Linked DNA regions of Homo sapiens: regions 1, 2, 3, 4 and 6 are each linked to region 5. The links are contacts of gene promoters, found by promoter capture Hi-C in human tissues and cell types (Jung and others, 2019). All regions are on one chromosome and are shown on one strand. Each heading gives the region's core, a stretch centred on a gene start or on the middle of the fragment in contact. The rest is flanking DNA. Distances are from core to core; before and after follow the strand shown. Region 1 has its middle 12 kb from the start of S100B. Region 2 overlaps LSS (lanosterol synthase). Region 3 overlaps YBEY (ybeY metalloendoribonuclease). Region 4 overlaps MCM3AP (minichromosome maintenance complex component 3 associated protein). Region 5 holds the start of DIP2A (disco interacting protein 2 homolog A). Region 6 overlaps MCM3AP (minichromosome maintenance complex component 3 associated protein).

The links. Contacts are between HindIII fragments. The study calls those that stand out against the background at their distance.
Region 1: a fragment that was not itself captured here is called in contact with the fragment with the promoter of DIP2A in region 5 in 4 of the 25 tissues and cell types used here (H1 embryonic stem cells, dorsolateral prefrontal cortex, lymphoblastoid cells and 1 more).
Region 2: a contact is called between a fragment that was not itself captured here and the fragment with the promoter of DIP2A in region 5, in 2 of the 25 tissues and cell types used here (dorsolateral prefrontal cortex and mesenchymal stem cells).
Region 3: a fragment that was not itself captured here is called in contact with the fragment with the promoter of DIP2A in region 5 in 3 of the 25 tissues and cell types used here (dorsolateral prefrontal cortex, lymphoblastoid cells and mesenchymal stem cells).
Region 4: a contact is called between a fragment that was not itself captured here and the fragment with the promoter of DIP2A in region 5, in 1 of the 25 tissues and cell types used here (lymphoblastoid cells).
Region 6: a contact is called between a fragment that was not itself captured here and the fragment with the promoter of DIP2A in region 5, in 4 of the 25 tissues and cell types used here (IMR-90 fibroblasts, dorsolateral prefrontal cortex, lymphoblastoid cells and 1 more).

Annotation. Positions count from the first base shown.
Region 1 is chr21:46,591,789-46,595,229 of GRCh38, forward strand. No RefSeq gene overlaps it. Among named protein-coding and RNA genes, the nearest start is that of S100B, 12 kb to the right of the region's middle. The HindIII fragment of the contact is 3,264 bases long and covers 1-2,926 here.
Region 2 is chr21:46,201,798-46,205,274 of GRCh38, forward strand. The region is part of intron 17 of LSS (lanosterol synthase); the gene reads right to left. Among named protein-coding and RNA genes, the nearest start is that of SNORD159, 9.4 kb to the left of the region's middle. RefSeq lists an enhancer at 1-56. The HindIII fragment of the contact is 6,573 bases long and covers 1-3,477 here.
Region 3 is chr21:46,289,782-46,293,663 of GRCh38, forward strand. It overlaps YBEY (ybeY metalloendoribonuclease), which reads left to right. Exons shown (of 5, transcript NM_001314025.2): 3 at 1,553-1,681. Among named protein-coding and RNA genes, the nearest start is that of YBEY, 5.4 kb to the left of the region's middle. RefSeq lists enhancers at 1-30, 31-612. The HindIII fragment of the contact is 7,396 bases long and covers 1-3,882 here.
Region 4 is chr21:46,257,228-46,260,817 of GRCh38, forward strand. It overlaps MCM3AP (minichromosome maintenance complex component 3 associated protein), which reads right to left. Exons shown (of 28, transcript NM_003906.5): 15 at 3,566-3,590; 16 at 1,712-1,864. Among named protein-coding and RNA genes, the nearest start is that of MCM3AP, 27 kb to the right of the region's middle. The HindIII fragment of the contact is 8,306 bases long and covers 1-3,590 here.
Region 5 is chr21:46,457,276-46,460,724 of GRCh38, forward strand. DIP2A (disco interacting protein 2 homolog A) reads left to right here and starts at 1,616. Exons shown (of 38, transcript NM_015151.4): 1 at 1,616-1,947. The coding sequence starts at 1,857. It overlaps LOC124905046 (a long non-coding RNA gene), which reads right to left and starts at 1,438. Exons shown (of 2, transcript XR_007067915.1): 1 at 1,052-1,438. RefSeq lists enhancers at 830-969, 2,740-2,809 and silencers at 1,210-1,759, 1,950-2,019. The HindIII fragment of the contact is 5,308 bases long and covers 596-3,449 here.
Region 6 is chr21:46,241,907-46,245,436 of GRCh38, forward strand. It overlaps MCM3AP (minichromosome maintenance complex component 3 associated protein), which reads right to left. Exons shown (of 28, transcript NM_003906.5): 23 at 2,901-3,291; 24 at 1,559-1,816; 25 at 896-1,025. The region is part of intron 3 of MCM3AP-AS1 (MCM3AP antisense RNA 1); the gene reads left to right. Among named protein-coding and RNA genes, the nearest start is that of MCM3AP-AS1, 14 kb to the left of the region's middle. The HindIII fragment of the contact is 7,439 bases long and covers 1-3,530 here.

The sequences.
Region 1 (3,441 bases), core at 45-2,544, 130 kb after region 5:
ACCAAAAGCCTGATAGCGATATGAACAATAAGGTCCAGGCTGAGGTGGTCTCAGATGGAGATGAGGAACTTGTTGGGAACTGGAACAAAGGTGACTCTTACGTTTTAGCAAAGAGACTGGTGGCATTTTTCCCCTGTTGTAGAGATATCTGGAACTTGGAGCTTGAGAGAGATGATTCAGGGTATCTTGCAGAAGAAATTTCTAAGCAGCAAAGCATTCAAGATGTGACTTGGGTGCTGTTAACGGCACTCAGTTTGATAAGGGAAACAGAGCATAAAAGTTCAAAAAATTTGCAGCCTGACAATGTGGTAGAAAAGAAAAACCCACTTTCTGAGGAGAAATTGAAGCCGGCTGCATAAATTTGCATAAATAACAAGGAGCTGAATATTAATCCTCTAGACAGTGGGGAAAATGTCTCCAGGGCATGTTAGAGGTCTTCACAGCAGCCCCTCCTATCACAGTCCTGGAAGCCTGGGAGAAAACAGTTTCATGGGCCAGGCCCAGGGTCCCTGTGTTGTGTGCAGTCTAGGGGCTTGGTTCTCTGCATCCCAGCCACTCCAGCTGTGACTGGAAGGAGCCAAGGTGCAGCTTGGGCTGTTACCCAAGGGTGGCGGCCCCAAGCCTTGGCAGCTTCCACGTGGTGTTGAGCCTGTAGGTGCACAGAAGTCAAGAATTAAAGTTTGGAAACCTCCACCTAGATTCCAGAAGATGTATGGAAATGCCTGGATGCCCAAGCAAAAGTCTGCTGCAGGGGTGGGGCCCTCACGGAGAATCTCTGCTGGGGCAGTGCAGAAGGGAAATGTGGGGTTGGAGCCCCCACACAGAGTTCCTCCTGGGGCACTGCCTAGTGGAGCAGTGAGAAGAGGGTCACAATCCTCCAGACTCCAGAATGGTAGATCCACAGACAGCTTGCACTGTGGGCCTGGAAAAGCTGCCGACACTCAATGCCATCCCATGAAAGCAGCCAGGAGGGAGGCTGTACCCTGCAAAGCCACAGGGGCTGAGCTGCCCAAGACCATGGGAATCCACCTCTTGCCTCAGTGTGATCTGGATGTGAGACATGGAGTCAAAGGAGATCATTTTGGAGCTTTAAGATTTGACTGCCCCACTGGATTTCAGATTTGCATGGGGTCTGTAGCCCCAGCATTTTGGCCAATGTCTCCTATTTAGAATGGCTGTATTTATCCAATGCCTGTAGCCCTACTCTATCTACGAAGTAACTAACTTGCTTTTGATTTTGCAGGCTTATAGGCAGAAGGGACTTGCCTTGTCTCAGATGAGACTTTGGACTGTGGGCTTTTGAGTTAATGCTGAAGTAAGACTTTGGGGGACTGTTGGGAAGGCATGATTGGTTTTGAAATGTGAGGACATGAGATTTGGGAGGGGCCAGGGGTGGAATGATATGGTCTGCCTGTGTCCCCACCCAAATCTCATCTTGTATTCCCATGTGTTGTGGGAGGGACTTGGTGGGCAGTAACTGCATCATGGGGGCAGGTCTTTCCTGTGTTGTTCTCATAATAGTAAGTCTCACAAAATCTGATGGTTAGTATAAGGGAGAGTTTTCCTGCACAAGCTCTCACTCTGTCGTTGCCTGCTGCCATCCACATAAGATGTGACTTGCTCCTTCTTGCCTTCTGCCATGATTGTGAGGCTTCCCCAGCCACGTGGAACTGTGAATTCTCCATTAAACCTCTTTCCTTTGTATGTTGCCCAGTCTCAGGTATGTCTTTATCAGAAGTGTGAAAATGGACTAATACAAGGACTTGGGGAAAGGGTGGGAAGGGAGTGAGGGATAAAATACTATAAATAGGGTGCAGTGTATATTGCTCGGGTGATGGGTACACCAAAATCTCGCAAATCACCACCAAAGAACTTATTAGTGTAACCAAACACCACCTGTTTCCCAATAACCTATGCAAATAAAATAAAATTTAAAAATTGCTACAGAAAAGGAAAAAAAAACCTGAATGCCAAGCTCCAAATCTCAGATAAATCCATGGACCGGATTGAGAACCTCTCTTCCCATTTGATGTGCTTTCCTCTGATTGACCCCCACCCTTCACCTATTTTACATATACCTACCCTTCCCTAATTGTTTTTTTTTACATTTTTACATTGTTGTTTCCATCTTTGAGTGGTGCCTTTGTTTTAGCCTTTTTTGCATACTCACAAACCAATCACCACACACTCCCCCATTCTGAGCCCATAAAAGCCCCAGACTTGGCCAGGTGCGGTGGCTCATGCCTGTAATCCCAGCACTTTGGGAGGCCGAGGTGGGCAGATCACAAGGTCAGGAGATTGAGACCATCCTGGCTAACACGGTGAAACCCCGTCTCTACTAAAAATACAAAAATTAGCCAGGCGTGGCAGCATGCGCCTGTAGTCCCAGCTGCTGGGGAGGCTGAGGCAGGAGAATAACATGAACCCGCGAGGCGGAGCTTGCAGTGAGCTGAGATCGCACCACTGCACTCCAGCCTGGGCGACAGAGCGAGACTCCATCCAAAAAAAAAAAAAGGCCCCGGACTCAGCCACACTTGCAGGGACTGCCCACCTTCAGGCACAGGGAGGACTACCTGATTTTGGGTAAGGGTAGTGCACCCAACTCGTGTCCCCCTCTCTGCTGAGAGCTGTTTTGTCACTCGATAAAATTCTCCGCCCTGCTCACTCTTTGGTTGTCTGCATAACCTCATTCTTCTTGGACGCGGGACAAGAACCTGGGACCCGCTGAACAGCAGGTGCAAAAAGGAGCTGTAACACTGTAGCCCTCCTTTACTCCCCTGATGCCAGCTGGCCCATGCAATGGGAGTGTTGGTGGGGCCAGGCCAGCCTGGGAGCCATGGGCCAGAGTGGGGTGATGGGAATAACTGAACAGAGGTCCTGCTGGCTAAAGAAGCTTCCAGCTGGCAAAGCAGCAACAACAACAAAAATCCTGCATCAACCTCGGTAAACACAGAAAAAGCTTTTGAAAAAAATCCAAAACCCTAAGAATATAAGGGAAATTTACCTGATAAAGGGCAACTACAAAAACCCACAGTTAACATACTCAATGGATACTTAATGGATCCTTCCTCACAACTGAGATCAGGAACACCCAGGGGCTGGGGATTTCACAAGATGTGAAGACCAGTAGGAAAGGGTGGGGTGCACTTTAGTGCACTATCTGCACACCACCCAACACTCCTACTTTCTTGAATGAGGAGACTGCAGTCCAGAGGGGCCTGGCTACTGTAAGCCTGGGCAAAGGCAGTGATGTCCCTGCTCAGGAATCCTTGGGTATTAGAGAAGCTGAGGCCTTTTCCACTCTCTGCCTTGCACAGTCAACTCTTGAGTGAGGGGGCTGGTACACCCAGAGGATGGTCACAATTCCTCTAGAGGTATAATCTAGGCAGACAGTGCTGTCTTGCTGATCTGGTGTTATTAACTTCCCTGAGGAAAAAAATC
Region 2 (3,477 bases), core at 748-3,247, 260 kb before region 5:
AATCTTTTTTTTTTTTTTGAGACGGTGTCTTGCACTCTCGCCTAGGCTGGAGTGCAGTGGCACCATCTCGGCTCACTGCAAGCTCCACCTCCCGGGTTCACGCCATTCTCCTGCCTCAGCCTCCCGAGTAGCTGGGACTACAAGCGCCCGCCACCACGCCCGGCTAATTTTTGTATTTTTAGTAGACAAGGTTTCACCGTGTTAGCCAGGATGGTCTCGATCTCCTGACCTTGTGATCCACCCGCCTCGGCCTCCCAAAGTGCTGGGATTACAGGCGTCAGCCACTGCGCCCGGCAAGTTTAAAATCTTAATATAGGCCGGGCGCGGTGGCTCACGCCTGTAATCCCAGCACTTTGGGAGGCCGAGGCGGGCGGATCACGAGGTCAGGAGATCGAGACCATCCTGGCTAAAACGGTGAAACCCCGTCTCTACTAAAAATACAAAAAATTAGCCGGGCGTAGTGGCGGGCGCCTGTAGTCCCAGCTACTTGGGAGGCTGAGGCAGGAGAATGGCGTGAACCCGGGAGGCGGAGCTTGCAGTGAGCCGAGATCCCGCCACTGCACTCCAGCCTGGGCGACAGAGCGAGACTCCGTCTCAAAAAAAAAAAAAATAAATAAAATAAAATCTTAATATAAAAATCACACTAATATATTTAACCATTTAAAAGTTAAAAACTTATGTTCATACTCCCTAAAGAGATAAAAAGAACAAAGAAATTGAGGGGAAAATATCTGTAACATAATACACAAATACTTACTGTGCTTAAAAATGAAAGAAAAAACTTCCTGGTGAAAATTTTAAAAATGGCTGGGTGTGGTGGCTCACTCTGTAATCCCAGCATTTGGGGAGGCCGAGGTGGGAGGATTGCTTGAGCCCAGCAGTTCAAGACCAGCCTGAGCAACATTTAAAAAATACAAAACATTTAAAAAATTAGCCACAGGTGATGGTATGCACCTGTAGTCCCAGCTACTCAGGAGGCTGAGGTGGGAGGATTGCTTGAGCCCGGAAGTTTGAGACTGTGGTGAGCCATGATTTTGCTACTGCACTCCAGCCTAGGTAACAGAGTGAGACCCTGCTTCAAACAAATAAACAAAAAAAGAATGTTCTAGCTTGGAAGTCACCAAAGAAATGCAGAGGAAGCCCGCGATTAAGTCACCATTGCTCCCCTGCGGGCCACATCCGGGACTCATTGTTCTACACAGTGACAACAACTGACATGTGCTTCCCTGTGGCATCTCACACAATCCCACCACTCTGTGAGGCTGTACTGTTGCCCACTCAGGCAGGGAGAGAGATGAGCAGAGAAGAGAAGTCACCAGGCCAGGTCAGACAGCCAGAAGGGGCAGGGATGGGGGCTGACCCAGGCAGGTGGACCCCAAGCCATGTGGCTCTAGGGAATAATAATGGTCATGAATAAATATTTAACAAGAAAATACCAGTTAAGGTTAAAATGGGGAAAAGCTAAAAAACAACAAGGAAAACTGAAAAATAACCCAGAGGCTACTGAGTAAAATGACACAACACCTGTGCCATTACTGCTCGTGCTGGAGGAGCGCGCTCAATGGTGGGGCTTTTAGAAACCTCACCAGGCACAAAGTGGGCCAGGCGTGAAAGGGGCAGCAAGCCGCCATGGAAATGTGGAGACCAAACAGCAACAGCAGATTCTCCTTCAGGGGCGAGGAGGGGCGACTTAGCTTCTTCTTTGCGCTTCTCTGTATTTTGCAAGTCTTGTTTGCAAAGAACCTGCTTTACTTTTATTACAGTGATTTTTAAAAGATGATCTATTTTTTAAAAGGCCAATTCTCTAAATGTGGCTGAGGACAACTCACGCCCACCTCATGCCGCAGAGCAGCACATGGCCGAGGGCCACGCCAGGCCGACAGAAGACCCTGGACACAGTGCCCTCCTAGCTGCACCTGTGAAGCACAAGAAAACCCCTGCTCCATCCACGGCTTCCAAAAAAACCACACCAGAACATTCTCAGATTGTAAATGAAGCAGCATACTCCCACATAACTCATGGGCCAGAGAAGAACAGTAGAAACAGAAAACACTTTTAGTATCTGTGCTACCACAGCAAGCACCAGAACACACATTTAACTGAATGATATCTCAAAACTCATTTATAGCCTCAAATTCATATTTCAATAAAAGCCTGAAAATCAAATATCTAAGTATTCAAGTTAGAAAAATAAAGGAGAAAGAAAATAGCAAAGGCCAGTGTGGTGGCTCACACCTGTAATCCCAGCACTCTGGGAGGCCAAGGAAGGTGGATCACCTGAGGTCAGGAGTTCAAGACCAGCTTGGACAACATGGTAAAACCCTGTCTCTAATAAAAATACCAAAAAATTGGCCAGTCATGGTGGTCAGCACCTGTAGTCCCAGCTACTCGGGAGGCTGAGGCAGGAGAATCGCTTGAACCCCGGAAACGGAGGTTGCAGTGAACTGAGATCACGCCACTGCTCCCCAACCTCAGCAACAGAGCAAGACTCCATCTCAAAAAAATTAAGAAAGAAAGAAAATAACAAACAATAGAAATTGATGAAACCAAAAATAAAGTCTCTTTAAAAACAGAATCAAAGACTAAGATTTTTTTTTTTTCAAAAGATCAGTATAAGATTCTCAGAAGGAAGAGGAGGATGTCAGCGTTGGGCTCAGAGCCATCTAAGAGGACACTGAACAACTTTGCATGAATCAGTGTAAAGCTGAGTGGAAATGGGAAGACTCCCCAGACTGATACAAAAATGGAAAATCTGCTCAGTCCTATAAACTATTAAAGAAATTACACCGCACTCCAGCCTGAGTGAGAGAGCTAGAACCCATCTCAAAAAAAAAAGAAAGAAAGAAAGAAAGAAAGAAATTGAACTTCTAATTTAAAAACTTTCCTCAAAGAAATCTCCAGGCCCAACTGGCATTTCCGGTAATTTTTCCCAAACATTTAAGGCAGAAATATTATGAATATTACATAAATTCTTCCAAAGAGTATTTTAAAAGCATTTTCCAACTGCTTTTCTAAGTCCAGCATCATCTTAACAGGAAAACCTGACAAAAACATTATAAAGAAAAAAAAATTATAGACCAGCGTCTCTTGTAACCAGAGTTGCTAAAATCCTAACAAAATATTCTTCAAATTGAATCTAGCAATATATAAAAAGGACAGTGCATTGTGACCAAGGTGAGTCTACACCAGGTTGAACAAAAGTAAAAAAATGTAATCGTGATAGGATAAAGAAGAACCTACAAAAATCACATACCCTATAACGTACCCTCTAACACAGCAATGCCACTCCTAGGTACGTGACCATGAGAAATGGGTACCCAGGTGCCCCCAAAAGATAAGTACAAGAGTGTTCACAGTAGATGCTTCATAATAACCCAGACTGAAATCCTCCCAGGTGCTGAGAACAGGCAGCTGGATAGCGCGGCATCTGTGTTCAACCGAAGGCCCGAGGGAGAGAACGCTGCTGTTACCCGAGCC
Region 3 (3,882 bases), core at 692-3,191, 170 kb before region 5:
TAATTGTTTTGAGATAATGATCCTTGGTTGCAAAGATCAATAACAAGATTAATGTCCGTCCAAGGTTAGACAGGCAGTTGCTGGGCAGATTATCCTTGCAGAAGTTTCTGTGTGCGTGTAAGGTTGTCATAGCCTTTGTGCAAGGTTGCAGTTTTGTGTGTGTGTAAGGTTGTCATAGCCTTTGTGCAAGGTTGCAGTTTCGTGTGTGTGTGTAAGGTTGTCATAGCCTTTGTGCAAGGTTGCAGTTTTGTATGTGTGTAAGGTTGTCATAGCCTTTGTTGCAGTTTTTGCCATCTTTAGTGACAGTTTTTGTTATCAGGCATGGAAGTATGAGAATCCTCTCTTCATAGCTTTCCCCAGCTCTATTTGTCAGGTTTTTTGGTTTGTTTGTATAACCCTAATGGCTCCATTTTTATTCTGACAAATTCCTTTTTTTTTTTGAGACGGAGTCTTGCTCTGTCAGCCAGGCTGAAGTGCAATGGCGCAGTCTAGGGGCTCACTGCAACCTCCGCCTCCCAGGTTCAAGCGATTCTCCTGCCTCAGCCTCCCGAGTAGCTGGGGTTACAGGCATGTGCCATCACACCTGGCTAATTTTTGTATTTTTAGTAGAGATGGGGTTTCACCATGTTGGTCAGGCTGGTGTCAAACCCCTGACCTCTTGATCTGCCCGCCTCGGCCTCCCAAAGTGCTGGGATTACAGCTGTGAGCCACCACGCCTGGCTATTCTGACAATTTTCACAATGGAAACAATTTAGGGCACTTGTGTACGGTTGGCTGGGCAACCCACCCGCCACAGGCCCAGCTGCCACTCTGGCCTGAGACATGCATCTTAAGAGTGATTTGGGTGGCTGGCACAGTGGCTCACGCCTGTAATCCCAGCACTCTGGGAGGCTGAGGCAGGCAGATCACCTGAGGTCAGGAGTTCGAGACCAGCCTGACCCATATGATGAAACCCCATCTCTACTAAAAAATACAAAAATTAGGCCAGACGCGGTGGCTCACGCCTGTAATCCCAGCACTTTCGGAGGCCAAGGCGGGTGGATCACCTGAGGTTGGGAGTTTGAGACCAGCCTGACCAACACGGAGAAACCCAGTCTCTACTAAAAATACAAAATTAGCCGGGCGTGGTGGCGCATGCCTGTAGTCCCAGCTACTCGGGAGGCTGAGGCAGGAGAATTGCTTGAACCCAGGAGGCGGACACTCCAGCCTGGGCAACAAGAGGGAAACTCTGTCTCAGGAAAAAAAAAAAAAAAAGAAATACAAAAATTAGCTGGGCACGGTGGCATGCACCTGTAATCCCAGCTACTCAGGAGGCTGAGACAGGAGAATCACTTGAACCCGGGAGGCAGAGGTTGCAGTGAGCCGAGATCGCGCCATTCCACTGCAGCCTGGGCAACAAGAGTGAAACTCCGTCTCAAAAAAAAAAAAAAAAAAAGTGATTTGGCTCAGAGATAAGTGCTTATTTGCCTTGGGATTAACCAGGATGAAACCTGTCAACCTGTGGTTGGGTTACGTTTCCTGTTCTCTAAGTCTACATTTCCTCATTTTTTAGCATCTGAAAGCAGGTGAATTTCCCCAGCCTGATTTTCCAGATGACTACAATTTGGGAGACATTTTCCTAGGAGTGGAGTATATCTTCCATCAGTGTAAAGAAAATGAAGATTACAATGACGTCCTGACTGTAAGCGGGGATGCTGAAATCATATAACCTGGCTCATGGAACATGGGCCTTGCAAAGGGGTCAAGATCACAACCCTGCATCCATGTGTGTCCGTGGGTACCGTAAGGGCTACTGGGGGAAGAACCTGTAAGCAGGGTGTGAGGAGCACCCAGGCTGGGTAGGGACTGCATGCCCCATGCCACAGTTGAAGGAGGGAGAGAACACGCTGTGAAAACACAGAAGCTCCCAGAGAAGCCTTCTCAGCTTTTATCTCTGGAGTAGAGCAGACTATGTTGAGCTAACACAGACCTGCTGAATCAGCTTCTTTCTGAGCTGCCAGAAGTACAGAAGTTGGAGCCTCCACCACCTTCCAGATCTGTTTCTCCTCAGTGTAATCCACCTATGGGTTCTTCCTGCCCACTGCACAGACAAAACCAATTCACTGCAATTGTGGTATTGCAGTAGAGAAAGAGTTTAACACAGAGCTAGCCAAGCAGAAAGGCTGGAGTTATTATTCAACTCAATCTCCCAGAGAACTCAGAGGCTACAGTTTCTACAGGCAATTTGGCAGGCAGGGGCTAGGGAATGCCTGCTGCTGATCGGCTGCAGACGGACCATGGGGTGTCAACGATTTTTGTCCCCTGAGTCCGCCTCTGCGTGGAGCCACGGGATCAGCTGAGTCATGAGTCTCAGGTCCAGGTGGAGTCTGTAGGTTGCCAGAACTCAAAAGTCTGAAAAACATCCCAAAAGACCATTCTTAGGTTGTACTATTGACGTTATCTTATTGGGGAGCAATTGGGGCGGTCACAAATCTCGTGACCTCTGGCTGCGTGAGTCCTGAGCAGTAGGGAATTACAGCAGGGCAAGCTGGGGAAGCAAGGCCTGCGGGCTGGTTCTCCTCAGGACACCTACATCTGAGCAGAATTCAGGCCCCTCCCATCATCCTAATCTTGTGGCCCTTCACAAGCTTCACAGAGGTGGCTTCGGTCTTGAGCAAGGAGGGGATTCGTTTTAGGGAGGGATGATTACTATTCTTGATTTAAAGTTAAACTCTAGATTAAATTCCTCCCGTGGTTAGCTTGGCCTGTGCCCGGGACTGAGTGGGGACAGCCACGCAAGTTAAACTCTAGATTAAATTCCTCCCGCGGTTAGCCTGACCCGTGCCCGGGACTCAGTGGGGACAGCCACGCAAGTTAAACTCTAGATTAAATTCCTCCCGCGGTTAGCCTGACCCGTGCCCGGGACTCAGTGGGGACAGCCACGCAAGTTAGACTCTAGATTAAATTCCTCCCGCGGTTAGCCTGACCCGTGCCCGGGACTCAGTGGAGTCAGCCACACAAGTTAAACTCTAGATTAAATTCCTCCCGCGGTTAGCCTGACCCGTGCCCGGGACTCAGTGGAGTCAGCCACGCAAGTTAAACTCTAGATTAAATTCCTCCCGCGGTTAGCCTGACCCGTGCCCGGGACTCAGTGGGGACAGCCACACAAGTTAGACTCTAGATTAAATTCCTCCCGCGGTTAGCCTGACCCGTGCCCGGGACTCAGTGGGGACAGCCACACAAGTTAAACTCTAGATTAAATTCCTCCCGCGGTTAGCCTGACCTGTGCCCGGGACTCAGTGGGGACAGCCACGCAAGTTAAACTCTAGATTAAATTCCTCCCGCGGTTAGCCTGACCCGTGCCCGGGACTCAGTGGAGTCAGCCACACAAGTTAAACTCTAGATTAAATTCCTCCCGCGGTTAGCCTGACCCGTGCCCGGGACTCAGTGGGGACAGCCACGCAAGTTAAACTCTAGATTAAATTCCTCCCGCGGTTAGCCTGACCCGTGCCCGGGACTCAGTGGGGACAGCCACACAAGTTAAACTCTAGATTAAATTCCTCCCGCGGTTAGCCTGACCCGTGCCCGGGACTCAGTGGAGTCAGCCACGCAAGTTAGACTCTAGATTAAATTCCTCCCGCGGTTAGCCTGACCCGTGCCCGGGACTCAGTGGAGTCAGCCACACAAGTTAGACTCTAGATTAAATTCCTCCCGCGGTTAGCCTGACCCGTGCCCGGGACTCAGTGGGGACAGCCACACAAGTTAGACTCTAGATTAAATTCCTCCCGCGGTTAGCCTGACCCGTGCCCGGGACTCAGTGGAGTCAGCCACGCAAGTTAGACTCTAGATTAAATTCCTCCCGCGGTTAGCCTGACCCGTGCCCGGGACTCAGTGGGGACAGCC
Region 4 (3,590 bases), core at 1,091-3,590, 200 kb before region 5:
ACTTTGGGAGGCCAAGGCGGGCGGACTGCCTGAGCTCAAGAGTTCAAGACCAGCCTGCGCAACACAGTGAAACCCAATCTCTACTAAAATACAAAAAATTAGCCGGGCATGGTGGTGGGCGACTGTGGTCCCAGCTACTTGGGAGGCTGAGGCAGGAGAATCCCTTGAACCCAGGAGGTGGAGGTTGCAGTGAGCCGAGATCACACCACTGCACTCCAGGCTGTGTGTACCAGCAAGGCTCCGTCTCAAAAAAAAAAAAAAAAAAAAAAAAAGATACATATATCCCTTGACCCACAGCCACCACTGATAGGAATTTATCTCCACACACGTGCCTGTGTGCAAACGGGTGAGATGTCTGTCTGTACAACAACAGTCACTGCAACAGTCTTTACCAGAGCTAAAAAGAGCTACGTCCAGGCTCGGTGGCTCACGCCTGTAATCCCAGCACTTTGGGAGGCCGAGGCGGGCGGATCACGAGGTCAGGAGTTCGAGAGCAGCCTGGCCAATATGGTGAAACCCCATCTCTACTAAAAATAAAAAAAACAAAATTAGCCGAGCATGGTGGCGCACGCCTGTAGTCCCAGCTACTCAGGAGGCTGAGGCAGAAGAATCACTTGAACCTGGGAGGTGGAGGTTGCAGTGAGCTGTGATTGCGCCACTGCACTCCAGCCTGGGCGACAGAGTGAGACTCCATCTCAAAAAAAAAAAAAAAAAGAGCCACATGAAAGTCCATCAACAGAAGACCAGGAAGGTCATTTATGGTACATTATCGCACTGACCTCAAGACCACTGGCAACGGGGACAGCTCAGCATGCTGCTACAGCCAAGCCTCCACCTCATATCAGATGGAGCAAAGGAAGGCTCAGAGCAAAGCAGGGATCATGAGCCCATCTGTGCCAAGAGCCACAAGAAAGGACAGAAAGTCTCTGGATGGTTTCGCAAGCAGCTGCTGCTCGCACAATGGACAGGGGTCTGTTGTAGAAGGAAGACTCACTTCTCCCCATACTCCCTTTTATACTGTTCCAACTACCAAGGACACTATTACTGATTTTAAATTTTATTATGAAATGAATCATACAACATACGTAACACATATATGCCCAGTTATAAGATTAATAAATCATCAAGCACCTGTGCACTTACACCCAGTTGAGAAGTTGTGGCCATGAGAGGCACCACCTCCCATTCCCAAAAGTAACCACTATGCTGAGATTATGATCATTATTTTCCTTCTTTTCTTTAGGGTTATACCACTATATATAAATCTGAAACAACCTATTTAGTTTGAATATACACTATTTGTATATTCCCTATTAATTGCTTTTTCTCCACTACTTATATTTTGAGAATTCACCCTTATTGGTGCATGCAGCCATAATCTGGCTTGTTCATAGCTGTCTCCCAGCACCTAGTGCAGTGGGCAAATGGCAGGCACCCTATAAATATCAGTTGACATACAGAGTAGCCACCACGTCCCAATCTAACTCCTGACTTTTCCCCTTATATTGTATGTGTGTGTGTGTGTGTGTGTAATCAAGTATTTCTGAAATGCAGTATAATCCAATTAGTCTATTTTAGGTATTCATTGCTATAACATTTTCCCTCATCCTTTTACCACTGAATACAGAAACTAATAGCTCATATATTTTGAATTTGTTAAAAGACTCTTCCCCGTGTGTGTGGATTTTGCCTGTAGGAACACAGGACTCACCGCTGTAGATACTTGCAGAAGCACTGAAGCTCCTGGAGGGTCTCCTTTGCAGTCTGGAAGATTTCCTCCACGAGAAACAAGTCCACTAAGTGGGCACAGACATCCTCACAGCAACGGGCCACACGGACCCTCTGGTCTGTCTCTACTGCATTCCTAGAAACAGGGCAATCAGCATGGAAGACACTGCACTTGGGGCCCACAGACACTGAGGGCTTGCTTGAAAAGTGCAAGAGTCAGTCAGGCGCGGTGGCTCACGCCTGTAATCCCAGCACTTTGGAAGGCCGAAGCGGGTGGATCATGAGGTCAAGAGATCCAGACCATCCTGGCTAACATGGTGAAACCCTGTCTCTACTAAAAATACAAAAAAATTAGCCTGGTGTGGTGGCGGGCGCCTGTAGTCCCAGCTACTCGGGAGGCTGAAGCAGGAGAATGACGTGAAGCCGGGAGGCAGAGCTTGCAGTGAGCAGAGATCGCGCCACTGCACTCCAGCCTGGACGACAGAGCGAGACTCCGTCTCAAAAAAAAAAAAAAAAGAAAAGTGCAAGAGTCGGCCAGGCACAGTGGCTTACACCTGTAATCCTAGCTCTTTGCGAGGCCAAAGCAGGCAAATCACTTCAGGTCAGGAGTTCGAAACCAGCTTGGCCATCATGGTAGAACCCCGTCTCTACTAAAAATACAAAAAATTAGCTGGCGGCCAGGCACGGTGGCTCATGCCTGTAATCCCAGCACTTTGGGAGGCCAGGGCAGGCGGATCACGAGGTCAGGAGATCGAGACTATCCTGGCTAACACGGTGAAACCCCGTCTCTACTAAAAATATGAAAAATTAGCCAGGCATATTGGCAGGCTCCTGTAGTCCCAGCTACTCAGGAGGCTGAGAATGGCGTGAACCCGGGAGGCGGAGCTTGCAGTGAGCCGAGATGGCACCACTGCACTCCAGCTTGGGTAACAGAGTAAAACTCCATTTCAAAAAAAAAAAAAAAAAAAAAATTAGCTGGGCATGGCGGTGCATGCCTGTAATTCCAGCTACTTGGGAGGCTGAGCTAGGAGAATCGCTTGAACCCAGGAGGCAGAGGTTGCAGTGAACCCAGATCACGCCACTGCACTCCAGTGTGGGCGACAGAGCAAGACTCCGTCTTTAAAAAAAAAAAGTGCAAGAGTCTGCATCCTCAGTATTAAAATGTAATTCTATCTTCATTGTAAAAGAAGCTTTAATACTTAAACTACAGACACCTAGAAAGACAGGGTAAAAAGAATTAAGTGGAACAGGGTGCCAAATTATAGGTCCATAGGGGCCCTCGTAACAGTTAAGAAATAAACCTTTATCTTAATAAAATAGTCAGAATTTTTAATTATTTTAGAGACAGGGTCTCACTATGTTGCCCAGGCTGGAGTACAGTGGCCACCACAGGTGCAGTCATAGCACACTACCTGGAACTTCTGAGCTTAAGTGATCTTTGCACCTCAGTCTCTTGAGTTGCTGGGACTACAGGTGCCTGGCGTAGAATTTGTAAATTACCATGCAGACAACCACAAAATCTTCTCATCAGCAACATCTGACTTGTGCAATCAATTGGAAGTGTCTCAAATATATGATAAATGCCAGTGGCTAATAAGGATGGCTGACTATGATCATGTGGTGGCAGCCCTCATATAAAAGAGAATTTTTTATAATAAAATTCTATTAGCCAAGGGAGCACAGAGGACTGCATCAAATACATTTGGTCACAAAATCAAAGTAGCTTAGACAGGCAAGATCCATTTCCAATAGCCCATCCTCAGTGGTGCAAGACACAGCCTAGGGCAGAGCCAAAGCTCACTCTCCTGGCACAGCAAGACACCAGCGTTTCACTTACTTCAACTCCTGGGAGCAGGTTTCCC
Region 5 (3,449 bases), core at 366-2,865:
CCCAGGCTGGAGTGCAGTCACAGCTCACTACAGCCCTGACTTCCAGGGCTCAGGTGATCCACCCACCTTAGCCTCCCAAGCAGCTGGGACCACAGCCGTGGCCACCATGCCCGGCTAATTTTTTGTGTTTTCAGTAGAGATGGGGTTTTGTCATGTTGCCCAAGCTGGTCTTGAACTCCTGAACTCAAGCAATCTTCCCGCCTTGGCCTCCCAAAGTGCTGGGATTACAGGTGTGAGCCACTGTGCCCAGCCTCATCTTTTCTTAGCAGGGATCCAAACTTAGTGGAAGAGTATTGCCTTGTTTGGGTGTTTTGCTATTTTTGGAGTTCAGTCAAACAGGGATGTTAATTCCTGGGCCTGGTTCTTGTCTTTGACCTGCTGCAGTAAATGAAGCTTCTCTATATGTAACGGGACAGATTCACTGGCTTACAACTGTTTGTTGCTTGCCTTCAGCTGACCACTATTCTTAAGAGTCTCGGTTGGCACTAAGCAATAGCTATCCAATCCCCCTTTCCTTCCTTTTATCTACTACGTTCACCATATATGAAATGTCTGATACTTCACCCACTCGTGGATTCCATTTCACTAGTTCACCCTCCTACTTCACCACTGGTGAGTGATGCAGCCTCGAATCCCATCTTCTCACCAGCTTTAATGCTGCAGAATGGTTTCTCCAGAAGCAGACGCTGCGACTGAGTTTGGGGTACGAGGATGTTGACATGGTATCAACACCCGTGAAAGGAAGGGGAAGGAAGCAGGACTGGGCGGAGGAAGAAGGGTATGTAAGTCCCGCAAAGCTTTGGCCAACCTCGTGTGGAGCTCTGGAACGAGAACTGCTGAAGTTCGCCAGACTCGGGCACTCCTGCCTAACTCAGTAACAGGCGGGCGGCATCGGGACACGGACACGCTGCTCAGGCCCCGCCACAGCCACCCTCGCACCGTCAGACACACTCCCACACATTCGGGGAGCAGGGCCTTCAGGACGCCGGCGGCGCCCTCTCAGTCTAGCTCCGCCAGGCCCCTCGTCCGTCCTCCCGCCCTCCAAGGTCACCTCGCGGTCCGACATGGCTGCTGGGGCTCCTTCGGGGCCAACGATGTGTACTTCTAGGGCTGTTTTTTAAAGCAAAGGAGTGAACACAGGTAAAGGCACGAGAAAGGTGCCTCGACGCCACCACGGACTGCGCAGCGTTCGCGATCAGCACAGCCCGAAAGGGAAGACAGCGGTCAACGCGGACGCGCCATGGCGCGGGGACCAAGGAGGAGCCCCGAGAGGGGCGGGGCTGGCCGGAGGGCCGCGCGCGGGGCCACCAGCGGCGCCTAGGGGTCAGCGCCAACGCCCACGGGTTGGTCATCCCCACTTAGGCGCCTCGGGCCGCAACTAAGCAGCCTGCCCGCCTCAAGCCCGCCACCCTCAAGCAGGCCCAGCGCAGAGCCTGTCGGGAGCGGCGCTCTCCCGCCTCTCCCAATGGGAGCCCGGAGCGGCATCGACGCGTCTTCGGGGCCAATGGAAGCGAGGCTCTGGTGTTGCTGGGCGGGGCCGGGAGGGCTGCGCGGGCCCGAGACCCACTGCGCACGCGCGCTCGCTACCCGCCCTTCCCGCCGCGCACGCGCTCCCGTGTAGGGCCGGCCGGGCGCTCAGGAGCGCGCGGGGCAGCGGCGGCGCGGCGGAGCCATCCGCGCTCGTGCCCGCGCGGGTGCGTTGCTGTCCTGGCCGCGCCCCTGTCCCGCCGCCTCCCGCTCCTCGCCTGGCGGATGTAGGTTGTTGGCCTGAGGGGAGCTACGTAGCCGAGGTTTGCGCTGCCGCCGCCAGGCCCGGTCCGGTTCCAGCCTCTGCCCGGACGCTAGCCGGCCTGGCCATGGCTGACCGCGGGTGCCCGCTGGAGGCGGCGCCGCTGCCTGCCGAGGTGCGGGAGAGCCTGGCTGAGCTGGAGCTGGAGCTGTCGGAAGGTGAGCCGGACCCCGCCCTCAACCCCCGCGACCCGCCCTCAGCCCGGTCCCCCGCGCAGCCCCTCACTCCGGGACCCCCGCGCGGCCCCTCACTCCAGGACCCCCGCCCTTCACCCCCGGGACCCCCACGCGGCCTCGCCCCTGGGACCTCTGCCCCTCAACGGGACCCCGGTTCCTCTACCCTGGAACCCGCCCCTCGCCCCGGAGACACCGTTCCTCAACCCTAGGACCCCGCCCCTCATGTGGGACCCCAGCACGACCCCTCGCCCCGAGACCCCGGCCCCTTACCCCCGGGAACTCCCGCCCCTCACCCCCGGGACCTCCTGCCCCTCACCCCCGGAACCCCGCGCGGCCCCTCACCCCGGGGACCCCGCCCTTCACCCTGGGAGCCCCGCGCTGCCCCTCCGGACTCCCGACCCTCAGCCCCGGGACACCCGCGCGGCCCCTCAAACCAGGGACCACTGCCCCGCCTCTCATACAAGGACCCCTCCCCCATACAAGGACTCCTCCCCCCAGGCCCTTCACACCTGGGACCCTTACTCCTCACCCCGGGACGCCTGCCAAACTTCTGGAGACCTTTCCCTATCCCCAGCTGCTCCCCCAATGGGATCCGACCCCAAGGACTGGCTTTGACTAGGTCGTTTGGACAGGTGTGAGAATCTTGAGAGGAATGACCACTTTTGCCCCAAGCTGTGAGCCCCGCTTTTCTCAAGGCTGTAGGTCTGGGCTTGGTCTGGGCTTCACCAGGATGACTGCGCCCGTTGTCCGCAGGCAGCTACTTCCCTTGGAGCTGGGAGCCCTTGCCGCGCGCCTCATACTCTAGGAGCTGCACCCTGTGCCTCATTTTATTATCTATAAAGTGGGGTTATACCAGCACTTTCCATTTTGGATTGTTATGAGGCTAAAATACCTTAATATATGCAAAGCACATAACACTTAGGAGTTGTTAGCCCCCTCATGGAATTTTTTAAAGTAAAAAAAAAAAGTCGTATAAATGGTTGGTTGATAAAAATAGACTGGAGTAATCTGGCTTCAGAGGTGGTGGGTGGCATTTCCCATTTGGATGTTATCCCTTTCAAGGCCTGTGTCCTGATATTCCTTTTGGCTGTCTTTGGGAAAGAGTTAAGTTCTTCTCCAGTGTCAGAAAGGACTTGCAGTCCTTGAAGAAAAGCATGTAATTGATTCTTACTCTGTTTTTGAGATCTAAATGCATTTTCAGCTTTTAGAATCCATTTTTTAAATAATCTTATTATCCTTAATTTAAGTTTCAGATTGATAAGATTTTGCTGGGTCTGGGGTAGTTATTTCTCAAAACATCTAAATAATATGCACTAGCATACAGTAAGTCATTTAATCCTTGCCAACCTTAGGGAGGTAGATGCTGTTGTGATCTTGTTTTACATATAATACAACATGTACTTGCAACTATTTTGAATTCAGCATTCAGATTTTTAACAATGTTGTGACATGTGGCACATTTTTTTTTTTTGAGACGGAGTCTT
Region 6 (3,530 bases), core at 54-2,553, 220 kb before region 5:
GGAGTTGGAGAAGGTACTTCAAGGATCTCTATGGGGAACAAGAAGGAACAGCAAAGTTCCACCATCCTGTGCCCTTTCTGTTCAGGTTTATTGTTGTGAATGAGAATTTTTTTTTTTTTAACATGTTGTGGATCTATCTATCTGATCACCTTATTGAACTGAGAATGGTTCTATGGACTTGACTTTTCTTGGACTGACAACTGTACTGTCTGGAAATGACAGTTTCTCCTTCCTTTCAGTATTTGTGCCTGTCTATCCCACATCCCTGTACTGGTCAGGATTTCCAGGACAATAGTGAATAATAGTCGGGACAACAGGCTGGTTCTGATTCCACTGTTCCTAACATTCTACCAAGAAGCATGTTTTTTTTCTATTTTGGTAGTTTTATGTTAGGTAGCCTTATCAAGTTAGGACTTTTTTTTTTTTTAACCCAAGCTAAAGAAAGTACCCAAAATAAAGAAATTTTATCAGGAACAGGTATAAATTTTAAGAAACGTATTTCAACGCCTGCTAAAATTACCACTTATTTTTCTATTATGGCAACAAATTACATTAATAGATTTTCACTGTTATTGTTTATCCTGGGAGAAAGCATACTTGTGAACTTTTTTAGGTACTGTGCTTTGGAACCAAATTTGGAAGTGAGATGAAATGTCAGCTGTACTCTCCTGGTTAGGTATGATTTCAGGGTCAGGTATGCCTGATAAATGAAGTGAGATGCTTTAACTTTGTTCTAGAATAGTTTCTACTGCATGGGAATGATCTGTTCCTTGAGGATTTGTCACAGTCTGCCCACAGTGGACTGGATTTGGCATGTAGGATGTTAATTTCTATTTACTTTGCAAGAAAAATACAGTTTAGCAAGCAACAGAAACATACTGAACATGAACCTCACCGTCCCTCTCTCAGCTGTAGCTCCTTCTGCGTCTGCAACCTGGCTTGTTCCCACGACAAAGGAACATCATATTTTTTCAAATCGTTTTTAAAAAAATACACACATATCTGACCATCTTCACTCAGCGCCTCTGAGAAAACAATACAAAAACAGATAAAGAGGCCAGCCTGGCCAACCCTGTCTCAAAAAAAAAAAAAACACACACAAAAAAACAAAAACAGGTACAAATAATATTTAAACAGCGACAGGTGGCATGTGCTTAAATTCACTGATTTAAGTGCAAGACCTTTGATTAAAGTCACACAATTATGTGACTTCCACACTTGGGTTAAATAGGCTCCCAGGGTCCATGCATCACTCAAAGTCCAGACAAGCTTACATCGAGACTGGCAGGGCCAGTAATGACTACTCAAAAGCCACAAAATCCTCTCTAAGAGCCATCCTAGGGGGCCTGTTTCAGGGAGGTGAGTTCAGGCTCTACCAGAAACTTCCTAGCCTGTCTCAATGTTTTTAAGTCACTCACTTGAAGAGGGAAGTCCTAAGGAAAGGAAGGATAGAGACCCAAAAGAAAAGCAGCAACATCAACTAAACATCTTCCTTTGCAGAAACTGGACCAGGAAAGTCTCGTGAGGAGCTGATCCCATTGCATCAAGCTCTAATTACCTGATGTAACAGGAAGCCGGGGGGGCGTCCAGTCTCTCAGCTTGTGGTTGATACACAAGGCGATAAGATCATCCCATGGGATCTCCATGACCGAGGGGCCTGCCCCATGGACTGGGGAGGGACTCTTGCTCTTCCACCTACAGTAGGTTCTGTGGAGCAGGTTCTCCACCTGGGACTGGAGGACAGGCTGTGTCTGGCGTGAGCTGGGGATCTGGGAGGCGTACTGGACAACCATGGAGCACACGGGGAGCCAGGGGGCTGGGGAGAAAGTGCCTCATTAGTTACAGGTTTGGCCAAAATACAGGTGAAAATGTACATGAAAACATTTTCTCAGGAGAAGGCAACTGTGAAGTTGAGAAGTCTGCTTTCTAAACACAGCAGAACCACAGTTGTTGAGGGGGAAGAGCAGCTTGCTCCCAGGGTCTAGGTGAGGGATGCAGACAGTCCCCCTTAACAGTGTTGCTAGCCAAGTTCTACCCAGAAGTTCTGACTGTACAGGCCTGTGGTTGTGCCTAGGAAATCTGTATTTTAACAAGCACCCAGATGAGTCTGGTATAAGCAGTCTTAGCTTATTTTGGGGAACCCCAACCTAACCAGAGCACCGAGGGCTTGTGCTGAGTGGTTTGCTTCCCTTTGGGTTCCTTCAATAATGAGCATGAGTTAGACCTACTACAGACCACACACCACAATTTAGAAGGGCGCCTGAGGCCCAAAGGGGAGTGTCTGTGCTAATGCCACAACTTCTGCCAGATAAGCAGCTCATTCCCTTCTGAGTGCATAGGAAGGAGCAGCCCCATGCCATACTGGGCTTGAGCCAGCCAGATGGCCTGTCGGATCTGTGTCAAAACAGCCCAAAGACCTCAGCCAGGAACAGGGGCACAGCCAGAGCCATAGAAGAAGGCCTCTTTGACAAAGAAAGAATGTTAAATCAGCACTGAGTGCCATGGCTGCGGCTTGGGGACAGGGCTACATGGTCCCCATGCTCTTTGCCCCTTGTCTGTTCTGAAAACAGGGACCCTGTGGGCAGGCAGGACAGGATCAGGGTTGGTGTTCCTCCCAGTACCACTTGTCACTTTTCTCCTGAAGCTGAGTGAACTCCCATGGACTGCCTTGCTGGTCAGGAAAGGCTAACAGCCCCCACTCCACAAAACCCAGCTTGTTCTGGCTCATGAACCCAAAGGACCAAAGGAAGGTGCAGGCGAGCACAGCATGGAGACACACGGAGGTGGACGTGCAGCCCTCACACTGGTGCCCAACACCTGCCAGACGGTTACTACAGTGAGAAGGAAGCCTGAGACTTGGCTGCAGCCACCCACCAGACCTCCCCAGGTCAAGCACGTACCCCCCAGGGGTGGAAGGTCCATCTGCGGAAGCTGGAACCCGAGCACAGCCTGCTTCAGCCAGGCCAGGTGCTCTGGGGCATTCCAGTGCAGGTGAGGAAGCAGCCGGCTGCCCCCTGCCTCAGCAAACTCAGTGACAGGCCAGGACAGGTCACACAGCTGTTCAGAGGACACCACAGAAGCCAGGAACTGCAGCACACTGTTAAACAGCTCAATGATGGCGCCAGGCTCCTGAGAAGCAAGACCGCCCAGACGCCTCTCTCTTCTGTCATGGAAAAAGCGGCCACTAAACTCATGGCCAATCCCGTCTTCGACGTACTGAATGAGAGTCTGGCAGCAGAGGTCAAGGGAATGGGGGCAGTGGGAAACCAGCCACTGCACTGCTTGCAAAACCTGAGAAGAAAGAAGAGACTTGGTTGAACAATTCACACTGTTTTTCAAAAACAGCTTTCTGAAAGGGCTTGATCCCCCAAGGTTGCCCACAGCAGGTAATACCAGAGTACTGGGCTCTCAACTGTGGTAGGAAGGGGAACAGAAGTGTCCTATGCAGTTGAGTTTAGCCTTCTAGGGCTCTGGAGACATGTCCAGTAGGGGCACTAAAGAGAGCCCCCAGATCCCACCTGGCCTGAGGA